Linked DNA regions of Homo sapiens: region 1 is linked to region 2. Evidence: promoter capture Hi-C in 16 types of primary human blood cells and fetal thymus (Javierre and others, 2016). All regions are on one chromosome and are shown on one strand. The core of a region is centred on a gene start or on the middle of the fragment in contact, and the rest is flanking DNA. Distances in the headings are between cores, read along the strand shown. Region 1 has its middle 14 kb from the start of BLOC1S6. Region 2 holds the start of SLC30A4 (solute carrier family 30 member 4).

Evidence for each region. The method cuts DNA at HindIII sites, captures the fragments that hold promoters and counts their contacts. A CHiCAGO score of 5 or more calls a contact.
Region 1: a fragment that was not itself captured here is called in contact with the fragment with the promoter of SLC30A4 in region 2 in 3 of 17 cell types (M2 macrophages, total B cells and naive B cells); the score reaches 6.7 in M2 macrophages.

Annotation. Positions count from the first base shown.
Region 1 is chr15:45,570,622-45,576,049 of GRCh38, reverse strand. No RefSeq gene overlaps it. Among named protein-coding and RNA genes, the nearest start is that of BLOC1S6, 14 kb to the left of the region's middle. The HindIII fragment of the contact is 5,703 bases long and covers 175-5,428 here.
Region 2 is chr15:45,519,101-45,524,610 of GRCh38, reverse strand. SLC30A4 (solute carrier family 30 member 4) reads left to right here and starts at 1,856. Exons shown (of 8, transcript NM_013309.6): 1 at 1,856-2,004; 2 at 2,143-2,647. The coding sequence starts at 2,257. It also overlaps the pseudogene HMGN2P46. RefSeq lists a silencer at 1,664-2,153. The HindIII fragment of the contact is 8,884 bases long and covers 1-5,510 here.

The sequences.
Region 1 (5,428 bases), core at 1,777-4,276, 50 kb before region 2:
CTGCCCCAAAACATCTGTGCCCACCTATTCACCCCTCTCTCCCTGCAACTCCTGGCAACCACTGATCTTTTGACTGCATAGTTTTGCCCTTCCCAGATTGTCACATAATTGGAATTGTATAGTATGTAGTCTTTTCAGACTGGTTTCTTTCACTTAGTAATATGCATTTAAGCTTCCTCCATATCTTTTCATGGCTTAAGAGCTCATTTCTTTTAGCACTGAATAATATTCCATTGTATGGATATACCACAGCTTGTACATTCACCTACTGAAAGACATCTTGGTTGTTCTCAAGTTTTGGCAATTATAAATGAAACTGCTATAAACGCCATGTGCAGATTTTTGTGTATACGTAAGTTTTCAGATCAGTTGGGTAAATACCAAGCAGTGAGATTTCTGGATCATAAGGTAAGAGTATGTTTAGTTTTGTAAGAAACTACCAAACACTCTTCCAAAGAGGCTGTACCATTTTGCATACCAACGTGCAATGAATGAGGGTTCCTGTTGTTCTACGTCCACACCAGCCTTTGGTGGGGTCAGTATTTTGAATTTCACCCATTGTAATGGGTGTGTAGTGGTATTTCATTGTTTTAATCTGCAATTTCCTAATGGCATATGATGTTGAGCATCTTTTCATATGCTTCTTTGCTATCTATATATTTTCTTCAATGAGATGTGAGTTGACATCTTTTACACATATTTGAAGCAAGTTGTTTGTTTTCTTATCACTGAGTTTTAAGAGTTATTTGTATATTTTGCATAATAGTCCTTTATCAGACATGGTTTTTTTGTTGTTGTTTTTTTGTTTTTATGAGACGAAGTCTCACTCTGCCACCCAGCTTGGAGAGCAGTGGTGCAGTCTTGGCTCACTGCAACCTCTGCCTCCTGGGTTCAAGTGATTCTCATTCCTCAGCCTCCCAAGTAGCTGGGATTACAGGCATGCACCACCACACCTGGCTAATTTTTGTATTTTTAGTACAGACAGGGTTTCACCACGTTGGCCAGGCTGGTCTCAAACTCGTGACCACAGGTGATCTGCCTGCCTCAGCCTCCCAAAGTGCTGGGATTACAGGTGTGAGCCACTGCACCTGGCCTATCAGACATGTTTTTGAAAATATTTTCTCCCAGTCTATGGCTGGTCTTCCCATTCTCTTGATTTAATTTTTAAAATGAACATTAGAAAGCAACTTAGGACAGTATGTCTCTATAGAAAGAGGGCAGATTTTCAAATTACTCACAAAAGCACATGACCAGTTTTGACATTTATAGTCAGGGACACCTTTCTGAGGTATACCTCCATAGAAATGATAGCAGCAGCGACTCATCTAAAGTGGCCATTGCCAAGATGCCAGCTACAGCAGGGAGGCACTGGGTAGTTCCTTAAAGGAAAATACGATCCATGGAGCAGGCAGGAGCCCTGCCCTTCGGCTGCAGACCCAGGGGTCTCTGTGCTCTTGGGAGCCCAGAGCCAGCTCTCTCCCAGAGCCCCCTGCCAGCACCTGTTCCTGCTGCCTGGCTTCTCCCACTGTCAGCTCCTGCTCTAATCCTGGAGCAAGGTTGGAGCCGAGCCCCGGCATTGTTGCAGCCCAGCCAGGGGGCTCATGCTCAGGGCAGTGCTGACACACCAGCCCCCAGCCACATCAGTCCCCTCCAGACTTTGGGTGATGAGGATCATGGGAGGGAAGCCGAGGGGGACTGCACGTAGCTCAACACTGGCCTGCAGGCACCTCTTGGCACAAACATCCTGGGTGCCAATGAATGGCCGTGAGAGGCAGACAGGCTCCTGGGAGGAAGGGGGTGGGTCCCCAGTGAAGCTCCACTTTCAGGCCAGGGAAGGTCCTACCAGTCCTGCCCACCAGAGGGGGAACTTGTGGTGCTTTTTCCTGAGCCCACCTATTGCTGCCCATGGACCAATCAGCATATACTTTCCCCACTCTGAATGAAAACCATAAAAACCCCAGACTCAGCCAGAGCAGGGCAGACATCAGGATGGCCAGCTGCATAGAGGAACTACCATCTCCGCTGAGAGATGAACATTTTTGGGGATGACCTGTCAGCAGAGAGGAGCCATCCACTCCAGGCCTCCTCTCTGCTGAGAGCTGCACACTCGATGGGACGACCTGCCCACAGAGAGGACCTGCTCACCGCGGGTCTCCTCTGAGCTGTTCTGACCCTCAGTAAAGTTCTTCTTCGTCTTGCTCACCCTCCACTTGTCTGCATACATCACTCTTCCTGGACATAGGACAAGAACTTGGGCAAAGGCACCACCACCCACAGAGGTTTCCAGCCAGAAAAGCAGCACCTCAAATATCCCAAGAAAAGAAATAGCAAAGGGCTAAAGTCAAAAGATTTGTTTCAAGCCCAGCTAAGATAATCATTAGCTGTATTAGATTTTTGTCTAACCAACTAGCAAGTAGAGAAGTCCAGACCTTCCTAAACAAACAAAGGAAGTTTTGATCAACTGAGCTTGAAAGTCCGGGGGCTGCTCTGGCTTCAAGGATTTCTATGTCTTCTCCTCAGCCAAAATAGGAATCTCTCCCTCTCTCTCCCTTTGATTCTCCACTCTGCTTTCTCCTATGTAGCATTCACTCTAGGAGCTCTCTCAATGTGATAGGAAAATAGCTCCAGGGTTTCATGATCCTTACATCTCCCAAGTGAAGTCAGTGCGCTCCTAGCATTCATTTATTTCAATCCCTTAAAAAAAAAAAAAAAAAAACTCAAAGCCAGGCACAGTGGCTCACACTTGTAATCCCAGCACTTTGGGAGGCTGAAGCAGGTGGCTCACTTGAGGTCAGGAGTTCAAGACCAGCCTGGCCAACATGGTGAAACCCCGTCTTTACAAAAAATACAAAAATTAGCCAGGTGTGGTGACGCATGCCTGTAATCCCAGCTACTCGGGAGGCTGAGGTAGGAGAATTGCTTGAACCCAGGAGGCAGAGGTTGCAGTGAGCCAAGATTGCACCACTGCACTCCAGCCTGGGCAACAGAGCAAGACTCCATCTCAAAAAAAAAAAAAACACTCAAATACTTGGATTACATGCCCACCCGTATACCAATCTCTGCATCTAGGGGAATATAGTGGACCCTGATGGGTCAGTGTGGGTCACACATAACAGACAGAGGCAGAGCCCCTTGACTGACAGACCTGCTAGGAGTTATAGAAAGGCACTGGGTAGTTCCTTAAAGGAAAAATCAGAGTCCTATTACCAAAAAGAGGAAGGAAATTGGCCCAACCAAAACAACAGATGTCAACTATATCAGTTATGAGATTTTAGTCAAGTCACTTACTCTCTGAACCTGTGTTTTTTTCATCAGTAAAAGAGGCATGATAATGATAATACCAGACCCATTACTCGGTGTAGTTCTTGTAAGAATCAAGCACGCATTATATGAACAGGATTTGTAAACTGCTGCAAGACACTATTGTAAATAATAGCACCCACTAAACGAGCATTTATTATGGCTAGAAGAAATAGTATTATTTCTGTTATTAGTGCCTTGGATACATATATTCACTAACCTTAATGTGATCTCTTAAATAGACTTTAGGTTTCCTAAGTAACCATTCAACCTTAATTTGGCTTCTTATGTAGACTTCTCTGTTGAAATAAGAGGGACTAAATGACTTAAATGAATATCGGAGGGCTTGGCAATTCTATGTTTTATTAAAATTCATTTCTTTTATACAAATCAACTTCATACAATAGGCAGTTTTTTAGTGGTTAATATCAACTGGTTAAGCTGGCAACTGAAGTTGCAAACCTGCAAAATTAGAAGATCAAGCTGTGAGGGATAGAGAACATCACCAATACCAGTGTTCTGCTTCTATTGGCAGGTGGGGAATCTTTTTTATTTTTTATTTAGTATTATCAAATCTGACAGTAAATGAATATCCGTAATATTGAGTGTTAATCATTTGAAATAGTATCAGTGTTTTTGAACTATTAGTAAAACTAGTCACAAATGATGATTCATTCAAATAACTTTAAATATTATTCAAAAGACAGCGATTCTTCTTCCACTTTGGGGTTTTCACAAAATTCATTTGTTAATCTTACATGTAGATATCAAAGTAGCCATCAGTCATTATTACTTTATTCTCTATGTTATGGAAAAAGTGTGATTTTAATGACCATAGGCATCATATATTATTCCAGGACTCAGCTTTCCTTTTAGGATAGATTTATTTAAATTAGCTAGGAGATAGATCATGCTTCATTTAAAATTGCTAAAATAAGTACTTGCATTAGCTATGCAAAATAGTCCTTTTTTTACTTAAAATGTTCTCTTCAAAGTGTTTCAGTTGCTAAATGTGAATTATTTCCAAAGATTCTCCAGACCAAAAGGTGAGATGATATTTTAAAAATTCAATTTCCTTATAATGTAATGAGGTCAATAATACAAAGAGTTCAGAGTCTCTGATTCCTTTTTCAGTTTAAAAATGCCAGTGGATCAAGTAATTTCTAAATTATTGCCCTAGTCTTTGGACTTCCTATAAATTTCTTGTCAACATTTTTTGAATTTACTTAGGAAAGTGCTGTCTTTAAAATTAATTATTCACTTACCTTCATTTTAAAGTATTTTTTCAAAACTGCTTATTTGATGTAGTAGATGAAAGGGTATATTTAAAGGCATTAATTTTTATTAACAGCTAAATATCTCAAGATGTCATTTTTCCCTCTAAGTTTTCAGAAAAGTCTCTATTATGTGCTCCCAGAGAGAAAAATAGACTTTAAATTAATTTACTTAATAAAGAGATAAATATAGTCTGTCTGTATCTCATCATAAACTTAGGAGAACTAATCCCTGAATGCCAATGACTACTGCAGGATTTTATCAGTCCTGGTTTTCCTCAGTCCCACCGTCACCTTCCCTGCTCTGCCCCATACCACAGGGGCTGGCTTTCCTGGTCCCTGTGCCAGCTTGCTTCCAGCTGAGTTTGGCCAATGGGAGGCACTAGTAGAGGTTACAGGCTGGGAGATTGGAAGGGGGTGGTAAAGAAGAAATCAAGGTATTTCTCCTTCCTTTTTGCCTCAGAAGGCAACTGGAGCAATGACTGGCTCTCCCATCTGGCCCCAGCTCCCAGTTGGAGAGTCCTGCTGTGAGTCCAACTTTGTCAGATATATCAGGCAGGGTCCAATGAGGAGAAAGAATGCACACAGTAATTTAAACAGGGAAAATTTAATATAGAAATTTAGGCCAGGCACAGTGGCTCACACCTGTAATACCAGCACTTTGAAAGGCCAAGGAGGGAGGATTGCTTGGACCCAGGAGTTCAAGACCAGCCTGGGCAACATAGCAAGGTCCCAACTCAAAAAATAAAATATAATTAAGTTAAATTAAATTTTAAAATATAGAAAGTTATTCACTATTAGAGAGATATTGGAGCAATGCAGTAAGAAAGATAATTCTAAAGAATACAAGAATA
Region 2 (5,510 bases), core at 607-3,106:
CCCTAATGGATGATTTTGAGGGATTCAAGACTTCAATGGAGGAAGTAACTGTAGATGTGGTGGAAATAGCAAGAGAACTAGAAGTGGAACCTGAAGATGTGACTGAATTGCTGCAATCTCATAAAATTTGAACAGATGAGGAGTTGCTTCTTATAGATAAGCAGAGAGAGTGGTTTCTTGAGATAGAATCTACTCCTTGTGAAGATGCTGTGAACACTGTTGAAATGGCAACAAAGGATTTGAATATTCCATAAACTTAGTTGATAAAGCAGAGGCAGGGTTTGAGAAAACTGGATTGACTCCAATTTTGAAAGGTCCACTGTGGGTAAAATATTATCAACCAGCATCACACGCCATCAAGAACTCTTTCATGAAAACAAGTCAATCAATATAGCAAATGTCATTGTTGTCTTATTTTAAGGAATTGCCACAGCCACCCCAACCTTCAGCAGCCACCATCCAGATCAGTCAGCAGCCATTAACAAGGAGCAAAGACCCTCCAACTAGCAAAGAATATGACTTGCTAAAGGCCTAGATGATTGATAGCTTTTTTTTTTTTTGAGACCGAGTTTTGCTCTTCTTGCCCAGGCTGGAGTGTAATGGCGTGATCTCGGCTCACCACAACCTTCGCCACCCGGGTTCAAGCGATTCTCCTGCCTCAGCCTCCCTAGTAGCTGGGATTACAGGCATGCGCCACCATGCCCAGCTAATTTTGTATTTTTAGTAGAGACAGGGTTTCTCCATTTTGGTCAGGCTGGTCTTGAACTCCCCATCTCAGGTGATCCGCCCGCCTCGGCTTCCCAAAGGGCCGGTATTACAGGCGTGAGCCACCACGCCCAGCTGATAGCATTTTTTTAGCAGTCATGTATTTTATTTACTTGTTTATTTTTAGAGACAAGGTCTCACTCTGTCGCCAGGCAGGGGTGCGGAGGCACAATCATAGCTCACTGTAATCTCGAACCTCTGGGCTCATGCGACCCTCCTTCCTCAGAGCAATTAACAAATGTATATATACTTTTTCCTTCCTCTCTCCCAATATTTTAAATTAAGGTATGCACATTGTTTTAGACATAACGCTATTACACGCTTAATAGACTACATTATAAACATGATTGTATTTGCACTGGGACATGAAACATTTGTGAGACCTCACTTTGTCATATTGCGGTGGTCTGGAACCAAATTCGCAGTATCTCCAAGGTATGCCTGTACTAGATTTTCTATGCTTGAGTTTAGTCCATATCGTAAATACCTTGGAGGCAAAAGGAACACGGCAGAGAGCACAAAGAGGACAATACATATTTGCTGAAAAACAGTAGGACACAGAACTGCTGACGACGACAGCCTTGCCCTCTCCAGTTGACTGCAGCAAATGTTGCCAATTTGCCAGAGACAAGCAATTCGAGGAGAGAAAAGCTGCTTGCCTTTTCAGTTAGCAAGAAAAGTGCTGGGTTTGTCTTCTGCCGAGCACCCGCAACCCAGATCCCGACCCGAGATTCCTGAGACACACTTTCGGTGGAGGGAACTCCTAGCAGCAACGCCCAGCCCCCGGCGTGACCCTCCGACCGCACTTGCCTCCCAGCCTGGGAAGGTGGAAGAGGCCGCCCAAAGTCCCCTCAGTTGGCCAGTGAGTGACCCCTGGGCGGAGGCGGCGCAGTGGCCCCCAATCCAGCCTCGGGGCGAGAGGCGGGGCGCGCCGCGCGCCCCCGCCCATCGCGGGCGCCCCAGCCCTGCGCGCCAGGCCTGCGTGTCCTCGCGCCGACCCCTCCCTCGCGCGCCTCGCCCGGCGCACGCGCGTGGCCTCGCGCAGGGCGGGGAGAGGCGGTGGCTGTGGGCGTCCGGCCCCGAACCTGTCAGACCTGGGGAGCCGGCCTCCAGCAGCGGGCGCGGCGGGCGCGAGCACGACCCCACTCTCCTGCGGCCGCGGGTGGAGCAGCGCGAGCCCGCCTCGCTGAGCCGGCCGGGGGCGGGGAGATGAGTTGCGGCCCCGCGGCAGCGCCCCAGGTATTAAATAGATGTGCCGCCCCCTCGCGGAGCCCCGGCGGAGCGTCGGGGTCGGCCCTGCGACCCGCCGCCAGCGGCTTCGGAACTTGAGGACAGGGTTGGGCGCCTTTAATTTATAACGTGTTTCGTTTTCCACAGGATGGGGAGGGACGCGCGGCACTGCCCTCGAGAACTGGCGCTCCGGTGAAGTAGGCGCCGCCGGCCGTCCGCCTCCCCCAAGCCGTTCCGCACCGCGGCCGCTCAGCCTCTGCCATGGCCGGCTCTGGCGCGTGGAAGCGCCTCAAATCTATGCTAAGGAAGGATGATGCGCCGCTGTTTTTAAATGACACCAGCGCCTTTGACTTCTCGGATGAGGCGGGGGACGAGGGGCTTTCTCGGTTCAACAAACTTCGAGTTGTGGTGGCCGATGACGGTTCCGAAGCCCCGGAAAGGCCTGTTAACGGGGCGCACCCGACCCTCCAGGCCGACGATGATTCCTTACTGGACCAAGACTTACCTTTGACCAACAGTCAGCTGAGTTTGAAGGTGGACTCCTGTGACAACTGCAGCAAACAGAGAGAGATACTGAAGCAGAGAAAGGTGAAAGCCAGGTTGACCATTGCTGCCGTTCTGTACTTGCTTTTCATGATTGGAGAACTTGTAGGTGAGTTGTGTTGCCAACTCACTTTCCGTTTACCTTTCCTCGAGAGTCTTTGTCAAGCTGTAGTTACACAGGCTTTGAGGTTTAACCCATCTTTTCAGGAAGTTTGTATTTATCAAGACACTGATCTCATGTGAAAAGGCCACACGGTTCCAAAGTGCAGCTCAATCTAAGTACAATATAAACTCCCCGAGATAACTTTGACTTTCTCTTCTAGTTGTTCAACCACTGTCATCTACCGTAAAGTTAAGGACGTTATCTTCATTGTATGTCATGTAACTTCCTCTTTTTACAAAGGTCTGGTAAAATACCAGGTTAATTTTCGCAACGTTTAAAATAGTAAATGATCGTAAATAACTTAAGATCATAGAATTTTACAGTATGAAGGGACCTTACTGAACACCTGCTCCACCTCCTTTTTTTTTTTACATGTAAGGATTTCCAGGGCACAAACCAGTGGAATAAGTCGTGAGGGCCACTTAGGGAGTTAATGGAAGAGCCACATCTACAGTCCCAGCATTTTTTTCCTCTACATTTGACCTAAGTGGTTTCTTTTATACGATTTCCTTTTGTATTTATAGCCAAGAGATTTGCAAAATTAATTACCAACTAACATGAAATTTTTGCCTCGTAAGAAGGGCCTGAAATGAACCAGAGGACTCCGCCAAAGTTCTATGAGCCTGGTTTTCTTGTTCATTTTTTAATTATACGAACAATCCGTTCTCAATATAAGATACATTCTTAGTTTAGAGGTTATTTTCAATCACGTCAGTATAACTACTAACTTCTCAGTGACAGTTTACAAAGTGACATAAAAGCAGGGAGATGATTCTTACATGTCATCTCTTAAATGATGAACCATGACAAAAACAGGTGGCAGTCCAGATTTAAGATGTTTGACTGGAGGGTTCTATGTGGGAAAAATTATATACATTTCCTACCTTCTTTCATAACACTCCTCCCCAGGGCTCGCTTCAGCCATGCTGGTCTTCTTTTTCCTCTTACAACTCACAAAGCTCTTTTTGCCTCTAAGGCGTTCAAAGTGGCTGGTCCTTCTATCTCAGTGGCTTTCAAACATTTTTTGACCTCACTGTAGTAAGAAATACACTTCACATTGTGACTCATTTAGGCATGCATGCATACATATGTATGAGAATATACACAGGTCACATGTGTATAAATATATGTATAACTGAAACAAAAGTTTTCCTTCATGTGATGTATCCTAATAGTTTCTTCAATTGTGGTCCCAGCTCACTAAATGGATTTCGTGTGTCCACTGCAGTAGGTCAGGGCCTTAGCTTGAAAAACACTGCTTTACATAGACTGCCTTTCCCAAATCTTTTCTTGGCCAGTTTCTTGTCATTCGTGTCTTATTTAAAAAGACACCCCGGCCGGGTGCAGTGGCTCACGCCTTTAATCCCAGCACTTTGGGAGGCCGAGGTGGGTGGATCACCTGAGGTCAGGAGTTTGAGACCACCCTGGCCAACATGGTGAAACCTTGTCTCTACTAAAAACAAAATACAAAAATTAGCCGGACGTTGTGGTGGGCGCCTGTAATCCCAGCTACTTGGGAGGCTAAAGCAGGAGAATCGCTTGAACCCGGGAGGCGGAAGTTGTGGTGAGCCGAGATTGCGCCACTGCACTCCAGCCTGGGCAACAGGGTGAGAATCCGTCTCAAAAAAAAATAAGTAAATAAAATAATAAATAAATAAATAAGTAATAAAAATTAAAAAAACCCACACTTTTGAGAGACCTTTTCTGACTGACTAAAGTAAATCTCTTTTGTTCCCTGTTCCCTCTCCAACTTTCAAAGTCCTCAGCATCTGAGATATCTTATTTATTTACTCATTTAATATTACCTGTTTCCACTGAAATACAGGCTGAATTCCTAGCACCTAGAACAGTGACTGGCACAAAGTAGATACTCAATAAACTTGTTGAATTAATTCATTTTTATTCTGTTAGATAATTATAAATGCTTGAGCTGTAAAGAAATTAAAAGACAGGAGACAACCTGTGCCCCAGATAAAGCACCATGGTCTCAGCAGACTGAGATTCGGTGACTTGCCCAAACTAACACAACTAGAATATTGAGTCATTCAGGTTTAATGATTTTTGAAGTTAACGTTGAATATTTGAAGTTAAAATAACAATCACAGCATCCCCCCTTAAAATGATTAATAATTCAGAGTTTATTTCACCTAAGTAAAAATCATTAAGATATAATTGTCTTGACTTCTCACTTCTGAAATCTGTTATTTGGTAAATGTTGTTTTATGAAAGCCACAATAAGTATTTCCTTTCAAATACTGACTTTATTGTCAAATGTGGAAATATTTTGTTAAACAATACAGAGATGATAGTAGTACTTAGGGTAAGCATTAACAATATTATTCAAAATGTTATATAGAGTTCAACTGTATACAATAGAGCATTTATTAAAGTGTGTCCAAAGCGCTTATAAATAAAGCATCTTCGAGGCAGGCGGCTCACTTGAGGTTAGGAGGAAAGCAGACTGGCCAACATGGTGAAACCCCGTCTCTACTGAAAATACAAAAAAATTAGCCAGGCGTCATGGCGCACCTGTAGTCCCAGCTACTGGGGAGGCTGAGACACGAGAATCGCTTGAACCTGGGAGGTGGAGGTTGCAGTGAGCCAAGATTGCACCACTGCACTCCAGCCTGGGTGACAGAGTGGGACTCTGTCTCAAAAAAAGAAAGAAAGAAAGAGAAATAAAGCATCTTATGTAGGAAGTATGGAGAAATAAAAAATGAAGCAATTTGGCCAGGCACGGTGGCTCACACCTGTAATCCTAGCACTTCTGGGAGGCCAAGGCGGGTGGATCACTTGAGGTCAGGAGTTT